2 separate regions of the Homo sapiens genome follow, and region 2 is linked to region 1. Evidence: promoter capture Hi-C in 16 types of primary human blood cells and fetal thymus (Javierre and others, 2016). All regions are on one chromosome and are shown on one strand. Each heading gives the region's core, a stretch centred on a gene start or on the middle of the fragment in contact. The rest is flanking DNA. Distances are from core to core; before and after follow the strand shown.

Evidence for each region. The method cuts DNA at HindIII sites, captures the fragments that hold promoters and counts their contacts. A CHiCAGO score of 5 or more calls a contact.
Region 2: a fragment that was not itself captured here is called in contact with the fragment with the promoter of FOXE1 in region 1 in 4 of 17 cell types (activated CD4 T cells, total CD8 T cells, naive CD4 T cells and 1 more); the score reaches 6.6 in activated CD4 T cells.

What each region holds. Positions count from the first base shown.
Region 1 is chr9:97,850,205-97,856,220 of GRCh38, reverse strand. It overlaps FOXE1 (forkhead box E1), which reads right to left and starts at 2,995. Exons shown (of 1, transcript NM_004473.4): 1 at 1-2,995. The coding sequence starts at 2,306. The coding sequence ends at 1,185. PTCSC2 (papillary thyroid carcinoma susceptibility candidate 2) reads left to right here and starts at 3,141. Exons shown (of 11, transcript NR_147055.1): 1 at 3,141-3,305. RefSeq lists an enhancer at 4,027-4,528. The HindIII fragment of the contact is 6,931 bases long and covers 1-4,927 here.
Region 2 is chr9:98,274,890-98,280,905 of GRCh38, reverse strand. No RefSeq gene overlaps it. Among named protein-coding and RNA genes, the nearest start is that of TBC1D2, 22 kb to the right of the region's middle. RefSeq lists enhancers at 482-1,167, 5,419-5,951, 5,952-6,016. The HindIII fragment of the contact is 5,565 bases long and covers 1-5,268 here.

The DNA.
Region 1 (6,016 bases), core at 1,746-4,245:
GCTCACTTTACTGACTGCCCTAACTTAATTTTTCTCTTTCCTTTTTGCATGGGGGAGGCTGCTGAGGTGTAGCAGGGGGTGCTGGGGATGGAAGAGCCCTCCCCAGCTACTGAAAGGCGTCACCAACGGGCTCCTTGAATCCTCTCATCTCCTTAAACTTTAGTTCACCCTTTGGGTCCAGGGCTGCGTGATGACAAGAAACAGTGGACAAATGAACGAATGTACTTCTCTCTGCCTTATAATGGAAAAGCAGATTTATGACTGGGCAGTAACAGCCATGAAATTACCAGCACGTCCTGCTCAAAAGTTCAATAAGTTATGATATAATTGCTGCCTGGAGCCAATCCTGGGACTTTAGGTTAGACGCTTGGCCATGAACTCTTTTCCGTTCCCTAGAACAGCGGCTAGGCTTTGGGTGGCTACTCAGAGGCCCTGGGTGGCCCACCATTGCTGCCAAATACGCAGGGCAGCATCCAAGATGATGGGGCCCTGAATGATAACCCGGGGGCGGTGGATAGAGTCCTGCAGCCCTCTAGTGTAACAGATGGGGGAGACTGAAGGTTCAGGTGATGGGACTGGAGTGCTGACGCACAGTTCAACTCGGAGCTAGGTCTCAAGTTCTCAGAGACAGGGAAAACCAGCCCAGGTCAACCAGAGCAGAGATTTCTCCAATTTAAAAAAGAAGAAAAGCCTATTTCTTTTGCAAATTTGTCCTCCTCACTTTAAGAAGAAAGGCGCTGCCGCAGCCTTTTATTGTAGTAACGCAGTTAAAGGCACTAGAGGACGAACCGCGTAAAAAGGCCCGAGTTCCGGCAGCACATGGAAGGCTGAAACTGATTCCCCACAATTTGGATCCTGGTCTCTGGTGTTGACACTACGCTGCCCTCTGGTTACCGCCAAGGACCCTCCCCGATAGAATACCAGAAAGCATCCCGTTTGAGGGCTTCGCTCCATCGAGGGTCCCTGTGCCAGTCCAAGGGCTCTGGCTGCCTCGCCCCACCTCCTCCCGTTTACAGAGTACACCGGGTGCCTACGCTGTGCGCGGGGAGACCGAGCCTCTGTGGCCTGCTCGGTCTTTTCCACGTGGGTCCCAGTTGAGTCCTCTCTCCATTCCTGTTCGTTCTCAGATTGCGGGGAACGTGTGAACAGCCGATGTGTCTATGAGTTTTCGTCCCTACGCTGGCTCACATGGCGGACACGAACCGATCTATCCCACCGGGATAAGCGGCAGCATGGCGAGCATGGTAGGCGCCTGCACTGGCCCCTCCGAGCTGCCCGCCAGGGTTGTAGCAGGCTCCCAGCGCTCCGAACTGGCCGGGCGACGTGCGCCCGTAGAAGTCCACCGTGGTCTCCACGCCGCCACTGCTGCCGCCCGCTGGGGGCGAAGCGGGTCCCGCCAGGCGGCCAGCAGCGGCAAAGATCGCACTGCCGGCGCCCTGCGGGTACGCGCCGTCGGGGCCCGCGTAGGCAGCCGCATAGGCGGAGGGGTTGGCCGGCCGGGCCCCGGTGCAGCCTGCGGGCTGGTAGCCGGTGGTGGTAGCGGGGGCGCCGGCGGAGGCAAAGGCGCAAGAGCCGCCGGGCCCCGACGGTGCGGGCCCCAGCTCTGGGCTGAGCGGCCGCTCAGGAACCAGGCCGAAGACGCGGCAAGGGCCGGGCGACGCCGCGGGGTAGTAGACTGGAGGCGGCGCGGCCAGCGACGGCGGCGCGTAGCCTGCATAGACGGCGCCCGGGTAGGGGGGGCGCGCGGCGGGCACCGCGCCTGGGAAGATGGCGGCGGCGGCGGCGGCGGCGGCGGCGGCGGCTGCGGCAGCCGCCGCGTCGTGCATGTAAGCCGGGTAGGTGGAGAGGTCCGAGCGCTTGAAGCGCTTGCGGCGGCGCAGGAAGCTGCCGCTCTCGAACATGTCCTCCGCGTTGGGGTCAAGCGCCCAGTAGTTGCCCTTACCCGGGCGGCCGGCCTCGCGCGGGATCTTGAGGAAGCAGTCGTTGAGTGTGAGGTTGTGGCGGATGCTGTTCTGCCACTTTTTGGGGTTGTCGCGGTAGAAGGGGAAGCGCTCGGTGATGAACTTGTAGATGCCGCCCAGCGTGAGGCGGCGCTCGGGCGCGTGCGCGATGGCCATGGCGATGAGCGCGATGTAGCTGTAGGGCGGCTTCCCGCGCTGCAGGGGGCGCTTGCGGCGCCGCCCGCCCGCCCCGCGGCCCGTGGCCTCCCCTGGGACCCCGGCCCCTGCTGCCGTCTCGCCGCGCTCTTCCTTCACGGTAGCCAGCACCTCCGGCTGCGGCGGCGGCGGCCCGCTCTCGGCAGTCATGGCGCGGGCGTCCCGCACCCCCGGGCTCTGGATCCCCGCGGCTGTCGGGGGGCGGGGGCGGGCCTGGCGTCCCCGGAACGGACGCTCGGCCCTTCTGCGGAGAGCTCAGGGGATCGTCGCGGGCTGGCCCCGAGAGCCCAGCGGCCCAGGCTGGCACGCGCTGGAGGCTCAGCGTCCGTGGTCTGGGGCTGGCGCGGTGCAGACAGAGGCTCGGGAGTGACCCGCTAGCCGACGGCTCAGCCCGCGTGGTGCTTCTCGAGGCGGGCAGCGGCGGTGGCCTCGTGACCGGGACTGGACTCTGGTCTCCGGCTGAAGGGTCCCTTGCGCGCTGGTGCCGGGCGGTCGAGGGGTCCGGAAGTGATCCCTGGGTTGGGGTGGCTGCAGCTGGTCTGTGGTGCCCGCTAGTTTAGGATTACTGCCTAGGTTGTGCGCGCAGAAGAGGCTTCGGGCTCGAAGGCCAGAGCGAGGGCAGTTAGTACTGGCGCTGGGCGATCTGGCGGGGGCCGCCCATGCCCTGCCCCCGAGGCCAAGGTGGCCGTAAGCGCCACGGGCAGAGAGGCGAGGCGGGGGCAGCGAGGTCGGGGCGCGGGCCCAGGCGGGGCGACCTGAGGCTGGTCCTCTCCACGGCGTGGGTCTCCAGCCCTGCGGACCGCTGGCGAGGCGCTCCCCTGCACACACCGGACCGGCTCCTCCCTCCGCCGGCTTCCCCTCCTTAAAGGGGCCACGAAGCGTGGGGCGGCACCGGTTCCCTGCCCGCCCCCCGACTGCCCGCCCCCCGGGGCCCGGGCGCACCTCCCCAGGTAGGAGCAGCTGTGGCGGCGCGGTAGGAGCCCCACAGCGTCAGGGCGGGGAGGGCGCTTGGAGATCCCCCGGGTCGGCCCCCTCCGCACCCCGATCGACTGAGGCCCGGAGAGTTCAGGAACCGGCTCGGGAGACCTCAGCGCCCGAACTCGGAGTTTTCGGACTTTTCAGGCCTCTGCCAAGGGCTTGGACTCGCAGGTGAAAGGACGGGCTCATCTCACTTTTTTGTCCTGAGAGGGTGAGAATTGGCCGAGAGGGCGCTTGGTTTTTGTGGGAATGGGGAGGGAGAAGTTCCAGGAGACTGGCTCCCCGGGCCTTTCAGGATGGTTTCCAAACCCCAATCGTGGCTGCCACAGCCACTCGGCACTCCAGTCCCCCCATCTTTCGAATGAGTATTCCTAGGCCCGAAAGGGAAGGTGACTTGCCATGGCCCCACTGCGGCTTCTCCGCTTAGCGGAGTCTCCAACCTGCGTCTCCTTTAGGACTGCGCTTCCCAACTGTGTGGTAGAGGTAGCCGCTTTCCCTTTTTGGGCCCCAGGTCCCTCGACTGTACCGGGGTCTGGATCTCTCAAGAGTCCTTGCGTGGTAGATATTTAGGGATAGGCCAATCACCACCCCCAATCATCCGTCTTTGAGAGGCCCAGGATCTGTCTCTATTTGATGGATAGTGGTGCACGGATTAAAGACGACGCAGGATAGGTAACCTCCTCCTCCAATCCCCCGGGACCAGGGTAGCTCTGAAGACCCCCAGAGGCAGCCAAGCAGCCCCTTCCCGCAGCGGGGAGTGAGGGCTGCGGGTAATGGGGGAGTGGGAAGAGAGCGGTGGCCGGGTGGGCGCGTCTCCGGGGGAAGGGGCGGGCAGTCGGGACACGTTTGCTTCATGGGTGTCCAATTTCTGAGTTCCTTTCCTGCTGTCCCTGAGCCGGAACTTGGTCCTAACCTGAGATCCTCGCGGCGCGGCCCCTCTGGCCCGGGTTCGTTCCCTGGCCATTCACTGGGAGATCCAGGGCCTGTCCTTGTCCCCTCGCAGGGCCTCAGTGTTCTACTCTGTTAAATAGCAGCTGGAGGGCGTGTGCTGATCTCCGAGGCCCCTGCTACGTATAGGATTCCGGGCCTTGGCGCGGGTTCCAGTGGCTCCAGCCCGGACGCAGCTTTCCGGGGTGGGGGGGGGGGGCGGGCCGGGGCTGTGGGTGCAGAGCCGCGCGGATGGTGGTGCCAGGTGAGTGTGGGAGATCCCAAGACGAGAGTTCTGGCCAGTAACGGGTGGCATGCCTTCCAGGGTTTTAGTCGCGTTCTTCGTGGCGGTGAGCTGAGGGCAGGCTAAGCCCGGCCAAGCGTTGGGCAGCTGCCTTCGGAAGAGCGAGGCAAAGCCCAGATCCTTGCTCCGTCGACCCGGTGTGTGGAAACGCTCAAAGCGTTTGCTTGACAACCTTCTGCGGCAGAGGGTTGGTCGAACGAAGGGAGAGGGGCTTTACACTCGCTAAACAAAACTCCTGGTTTCCTTCTTCCCAAGTAATGGAGAAGCAAAAAACCCAGATTTCGTCCTGTTTCGTTTTTACAAAGGAGGAAAAACTTCAAATTTTAAAATTTTTAACTGGATTATATTATAGGCACCTTTTAATACGGGATTTCGTGGCTCTCAGTAACTTTCAAGATTCTGAGATTCAGATATCTAGATTTTAAATTCTGGACGACCGTTGTCCTAACGTGATTCCATAAATCTAAAGAATGCGATCCTGCGATCCTGCGACCCTGTAATTCTAAGATTCCAAGACTGGGAGTCTAACTTTGACTATGCTTATATTCCTTTGACTTAAGCTTCTAGTCAAAGTCTAAAAACCTATGTATTAAGATACTGGGACTAAACCAGGCACGGTGGCGGGAGCCTGTAGTCCCAGCTACTGGAGGTTAAGGCAGGAAGATCGCTTGAGCCCAGGAGTTCCAGGCTGTAGTGCACAATCATTGTGCCTGTGAGTAGCCACAGCACTCCAGCCTGTGCAGCAAAGGGAGACCCGGTCTCTTAAAAGCAAAACAAAACAAACAAAAAACGGGGACCTAAGATTTTGTGCCTGAAAATATGATGCCACTCTTGAAGCTGCCACTTCTCCAGTTTTTTATTTTTTCCACTCTAAGTTATATATTATTTAATTTGAATTCCTGTTTAGGAATGTCTGATTGGAAGAATTTGAATCCTGTAAATCCGCAGTTCTCTCCTTCCTTAATTCTAAAATGTTAGTGCTGGATCTGCTATTCTGTAGTTCAAATAATCTGATTCCAATAATTCTTCTAATGTTTGTGATTATATGCTGTAATGATTAGTCCCATGACTTTATGATCCTCTACTTTTAAGCTGCAACGACTATGGCTAAAAGCCTTCTTGTCTCAGGATTTTCTGTTCTTCAGTGTCTTGTGTCTGTGACCTCATTCTTCTAGAATTCTGATGGTTTTCTCAAACTTTGTTAATATCAAGCTACTCCTGTGGCCGAGACCAAATACCTAGCATCATGAGATTAGAATTTCCAAGATCATGATTCTAAGATTTTCGCAAACCAAGGACCCCTAAATTTCTATTTCATAAATGTTCTCTTTGAATAATGCATTTGAAGATTCTGTGAGTCCACAGTGAGTTCACATTAAATGATTTGGTGAGTACACAGGTCACAAGTTTACCCGTTTGGATCAAAACCATACACAAAAATCTCCTCGGGGCATTTCCTATCTCTTCCCATTGCTTCCTTCTCAGTTTCTTGAGAAGGAACATGGTCATGGCCAAGTCCTCCCCTCTTCTCTGCCACAGTGCTCCTTAACGTTTATGAATCATCTGGAAGTTAGGAAGGGCAGGTTCCAGACCCTTGGAAATCATTCTCCCAATCCAGCAGGGGTGGGTTGGTGTTGATGTGGGCAGGCCA
Region 2 (6,016 bases), core at 1,237-3,736, 430 kb before region 1:
AGGCCACCTTTGTTTGTTTTCTCTCATGAGCCATTGACAATAGTGGGGCCATCTGATAATACACACAATTGGAGTCGTGATTGAGTGCAGATGCCCATTAAGCCCCAGGCTAAGTGCTTTGCAAGCATAATCTCATTTAGCTCTCACAGGGACCCCAGCGCAGAACCGATCATTACCACCCTTCTGCAGCTAAAGGCACTCAGGCACAGCGGGTGAGTGCTGTCCTGGGTCACACAGCTGGGATGTGGAGTGAGTCACAATTTGAACACAGCAGCCCGATCCAGAGTAGACCACCTTTACCACTTCTTTAAACCCTAGTCACAATTAGCCGGATTCAGATGACCCAGGATATGCTTTTTTTAAAGATTATCTTGAAATAAAAATCCCTCTTGTTTTCAGTTTATAGAAGATTTGCAGACCCCCAAGATTCACCAAGGGCATCATCTGAGGCTCTAGGCCCCAGTCTGAGAGCCTCTGGCCCAGGCAATGTGACCATGAGCAAGCCAGTGGCTCAGAGCAACGCTGGGAGATACACTCCAGGCCCCTGGGCTCCTCAGGTTGACTCATAAACCAGCCCCTGGGAGATTCTGGGCCTCAGGGACACCTGGTTTTGAGGGCAAGGGAGCCTGGGGGAGCAGGGGCAGCTCCATGTTGAGCAACAGTGACAGTGGCAATGATGATGGCAGTACCAGAGCTCCTGGGCGGCTATGACAACAGACACCTGCCATGGCTGTGGTGGCCACAGCTCTGAAGGCACCAGCCCCTCGATGGGAGTGGAGGTGGAGGTGGGGAGTTGGTCAAAACTAACTGAAGAGGTAGGGCGACCTCCACATCAGGAAGGATGCCGATTCACTCAGGGCTAGAGGCTGGCAGCTCTGCCACAGCAGAGAAGAACCTATGCAGACACAAAATCCTATGCCCAAGTTGCCCATTGACTAGATGCCCCCATCCCAGATCTTCACCCTGGGCCACTCAACCAGGCCTCCAGGATCTAGCAGAAGGACTCTGCCAGCATCTCAGGGCAGGGGAGGCAAGATGGAAGGTGTTCACCCCATCTGCAAAGAAAAGCCAGTTCTGAGTTTTTTCTGTGAAATAAGAGATTACAGACAAACGACGAGAAAATGGACTGAGAAGAAAAAAGGGAAGAAAGTGGGGAGGGAAGAAAGGAGGAGGGAGGGAGGGAAAGTTTTGAGATTGGAGTAGTGTCAGAAACCTGCACATTCAACTCCTCTCTCTTTAATTCTTGCTACAATGGCCCAACCAATCAGAGCAAATCCATATCCTCTTCCATAAAGATTATTCTATCTAGATGGTCTCTGAAAATTAGAGAAAGTGTCCCACGCACATCTCTAAAAGCTCAAGTCATTTCCACCGCTCAGGTAAAGGGTGGAGGGAGGAGAAGCAGCTGCAGGCCACCATCTTCTCACTAAGCGTGGAGAAGACCACCTGGGGTTAATTCAAACTCAGTAGTGCAAAAGCCAAGTAGTCTTGGATTTGATTTTAGAGCTTCCATTCTGAGTTCAAAGGACCTTCAGATGTGGGCCGGTATCTCCATGCAGGAGCTGCTGGAAGTCATAATTTCACAGGACTTCTGCAGAACCAGCGCTCCAGCATCCACTTTCTCTCACAAGTCACCCCCACCACAGGGAAGAAGAGGAGGCAAGTGAGAGCAGAATTCATGAGCAGCAGCCATCTCTTCTCATCCCATGGGGGAGCCGGGAAGGCTTAAATAAGTTCCCCTCCCTCCATAAGATCGGGGGTAGCTTAAGTATTCCTCCAGACCCTTTCCCCTTCACCAAGTAAGGGACTGGCAATGCCTTTCATCTGAAAACTTCAGCGCCATTGAACTGCCCAATGCCCAGGCCAGTGTTGCTGGCAGGTCGAGAGAGGGCTGAGCGGAAGAGAGGAAGACTAGGGTAGCCAGTGGCATTCCCACAGGGTGGCTTGGCAAGGAGATGTGGGTTTTCCATGGGTTGTGTGGGCACTGAGGAAGGTTGGGAGAATTTCATCATCCTAAGAGGCTGAGGAAAAAAGTAGATGGATGAAGTTCAGTCAGAACTTGCTCACCAGAGGATTGTGTCAGAAGGACCCACTGGAAAGCCAGCACTCAGACACCTGCCTGGCAGAGGAACAGACAGCCAGATAGGAACAAAAGAAGTGATGCCAGCAGAAAGAAGACTGTAACCTCACGCAAGGAGTCACAGAAAGCAGTGTTCTGATACCTCTCCCCTCTCTTGCCTCCTTTCCCTGATATCTCAGAGAAAATAGAGAATGGGAGAGCAAACCTCATCACCTCCCTCCCTGCCCCAAGTCACAGAAACCTCAAGTGCCTGCCTGGGAAGAGTGCACTTTTTTTTTTTTTTTAAACATCCAGAGACTCTTTACTTTTTGTGGCTTTATTGAGATAGAATCCACATACCACACAATTCACCCTTGTAAAGGGTGCAATTCAGCCAGGCATGGTGGCTCACACCTATAATCCCAATGCTTTGGGAGGCCAAGACAGGAGGATCCCTTGAGCCCAGGAGTTTGAGACCAGCCTGGACAGCATAAGGGGACTCCATCTCTACACAAAATTTAAAAATTAGCCCGGCGTGGGGGATGCACGCCTGTAGTCCCAGCTACTCAGGAAGCTGAGGCAGGAGGATCACTTGAGCCCAGGAGTTTGAGGTTATAGTGAGCATGATTTTGCCACTACAACAGACTGAGATCCTAAAAAAATAAAATAAAATGAATTAAAGTATACAATTCAAATTTTTTAGTATATTCACAGATTCATACAATCATCTCCACAATCTAACTTTGGAACATTTTCATCACTCCAAGAAGAGTTAGCTGACAGTCCCTATTTCTCCCCAAGTTCCCCCAGCCTAAGCAACCACGAAATCTACTTTCTGTCTCTGTAAGTTTGGACATTTCACATAAATGGAACTTGCAATATGTGGTTCTTTGTGATGGGCTTCTTTTACTTAAGATAATGGGTTCAAAATTCATGTGTTATCAATATGAATGCAAGATAATGCATTCATATTGCAGCATGGATCAGGACTGCCTCAACTTTTATTGCCGAATATAGTCTATAGTATGTGTATACATTTTACTTTATGCAATTATTATCCATGTTATCAGTTAGCAAACATTTGAGTTGTTTCTACTTTTGGACTATTATGAATAATGATATTATGAACACTCAAGTTTTTGTGTGGACATAATGTCTTTGTTTTTCTTGGGGATATAACTAGGAGTGGAATTGCTGGGTTGTATGGTAACTCTAGTTTTAACTGTTTGAGGAACTGCCAGATTTTTCCACTGCAGCTACAACATTTTACATTCTCATCAGCATGTATGAGGGTTCCAATTTCTCCTTATGCTTACCAACATTTGTTATTATCTATTTTTAAAAAAAAATTCATAGCCATCCTGGTAGATGTGAAGTATCTCATTGTGGTTTTCGTTTGCATTTCCCTGATGGCTAAAGATATTGAGCATCTTTTCATGTACTTATTGGCCATTGACATATCTTCTTTGCAAAAATGTCTGTTCAGAGCCTTTGCCTTTTATTTATTTATTTCTGGAACGGGGCCTCACTTTGTCGCCCAGGCTGGAATGCAGTGGTGTGATAACAACGGCTCACTGCACCCTAGAATTCCTGGGGCTTAAAGGAATCCTCCCACTTCAAATTCCCGAGTAGCTAGGACTGCAAGCGCAAGCCACCACTCCCTAATTTTTTTAGTTTTGTAGAGACAGAGCCTCCCTATGTTGCCCAGCTAGTCTCCAATTCCTGGGTTCCAAGCAATCCTCCCACCTCAGCCTCCCAACGTGCTGGGATTATAGGCATGAGCCACTGCACCCGGCGCCATTTTTAAGTTGAATAATTTGAATTCTTCCTATTGAGATGTAAGAGTTTGTTATGTATTCTAGATACAAGTTTCTTATTTGATCCACGATTTGCAAATATTTTCTTCCATTCAATGGGTTATCTTTTCATGTTATTGAGGGTGTTCTTTAAAGCATAAAAGTTTTTAATTTTGATGAAGTCTTACTTTTTTCTTTTATTGCTTATGCTTTTGCTGTCATATCTAAGCTCAAATCACAAATACTTCTGTTTTTCTTCTGAAAGTTTTTTAGTTTTAGCTCTTACATTTACAATCCATTTGAGTTAATTTTTGGGTAAGGTATGCGTAAGGAGTGCAACTTCATTCTTCTGCATGTGGGTAGCCAATTATCCTAGCACCATTAATTGAAAAGATAATTCTTTCCTCCACTGAATTGTCTTAGCATCCTTGTGGAAAATCAATTGACTATAAATGCAAGGGTTTATTTCTGGATTCTTAGTTCTATTCCATTGATCTAGATGTCTATCATTTTGTCCAGTGATTCTTAGTAACTGAACATGAAGGGAGAAGCCTGAGATATTATTAAGGGAAGCTACAAGTGGGAAAGAAGGTTCCACAGAGTCCAACTGGTCACTGGGAAAAAGTCCATCATTTCGCATTTGTGCCTCAAAGAGTTAAGACTCCTCCAACCACTTCTAGTGAAGGAACATTCCCAACCCGTATCATGTCTGCTTTTCCAAATGGGGTACATGGAATGATCCATTTCCCTTAGCTGCTATCATAAATGAGTGTTGCATTTTCATAAACTATTTTTCAGCACTGATTGTGATTATTCTCTTTTAATCTGTTAATCTGGTGAATTACATTATTAGATTTGCTAATAGTAGATATATTTGATGCTTACATTTCTAGGGTAAACCTAACTAGGTCATTTTTTATTTAATACATTACTAAAGTATGCCATTATTTTGTTTAGGATTTTTGCATCTAAAATCATGAATAAATTTGATGCTTTATTTTTTCTTTTTCATTCTGGCTTTGGAATCAAGGTCATCACTAGCCTCGTAAAATGATTTGAGGGGATGTTGCCTCTTTTTCTAATCTCTGAAAGGGTTTGTATAAAATTAGAATTGTCAGTTTGTTTGTTTTTAATTGAGATGGGGTCTCACTATGTTGCCCAAGTTGGTCTTGAACTCCTGGCCTCAAACGATCCTCCTGTCCCGGCTTCCCAAAATGCTGGGATTACAGGTGTGAGCCACCATGCCTGGCCTAGAGTTGTCAGTTCTTTGAACGTTTAGCAGAATTGTTTTGTAGGTTGATTTTAATCTACTAATTCAGTTTCTTCAACTGTTACAGATTTGGTTTTCTTTTTCTGTGCAAGTGAGTTTTATAAGTTTTATTTTCCTAGAAACATGTCTATTTCATGGAAGCTTTCAAACTATTAGCATAAAGTTGTTTGTAGTACTTATTTTTTTAATCTGTTGCATTTGTAATTATGTCCCTTTTTCATACGTTATATTGCTATGCATCCTTTTTCTGACTTAACTAAAGTTACAAGGTTGTATTTTATTCTTCTATTGAAAAAATACAAGTTTGGGTTTGGTTGAGCATCTCTACTGTGTTTTTCTATATGATTTCATTAATGTGTGCTCTTATCTTTATTATCTTCTTGTACTTTGTTTTCTTTGCTACTTAAATTATGGTCATTTGTTTGTGGGCATGACATCATTATCTATTAAAATATAAGTGGGTATGTTAGTCCATTCTGTCAGGCCTGTGCGCCCAAGCTAAGGCATCATATCCCCTGTGACCTGCACATATACATCCAGATGGCCTGAAGTAACTGAAGAATCACAAAAGAAGTGAAAATGGCCTGCTCCTGCCTTAACTGATGACATTACCTTGTGAAATTCCTTCTCCTGGCTCATCCTGGCTCAAAAGCTCCCCAACTGAGCACCTTGTGTCCCCCGCCCCTGCCCGCCAGAGAACAACCCCCTTTGACTGTAATTTCCACTACCTACCCAAATCCTATAAAACGGCCCCACCCCTATCTCCCTTCACTGACTCTCTTTTCGGACTCAGCCCGCCTGCACCCAGGTAATTAAAAAGCTTTATTGCTCACACAAAGCCTGTTTGGTGGTCTCTTCACACGGATGCGCGTGAAACATTCCTGCTGCTAT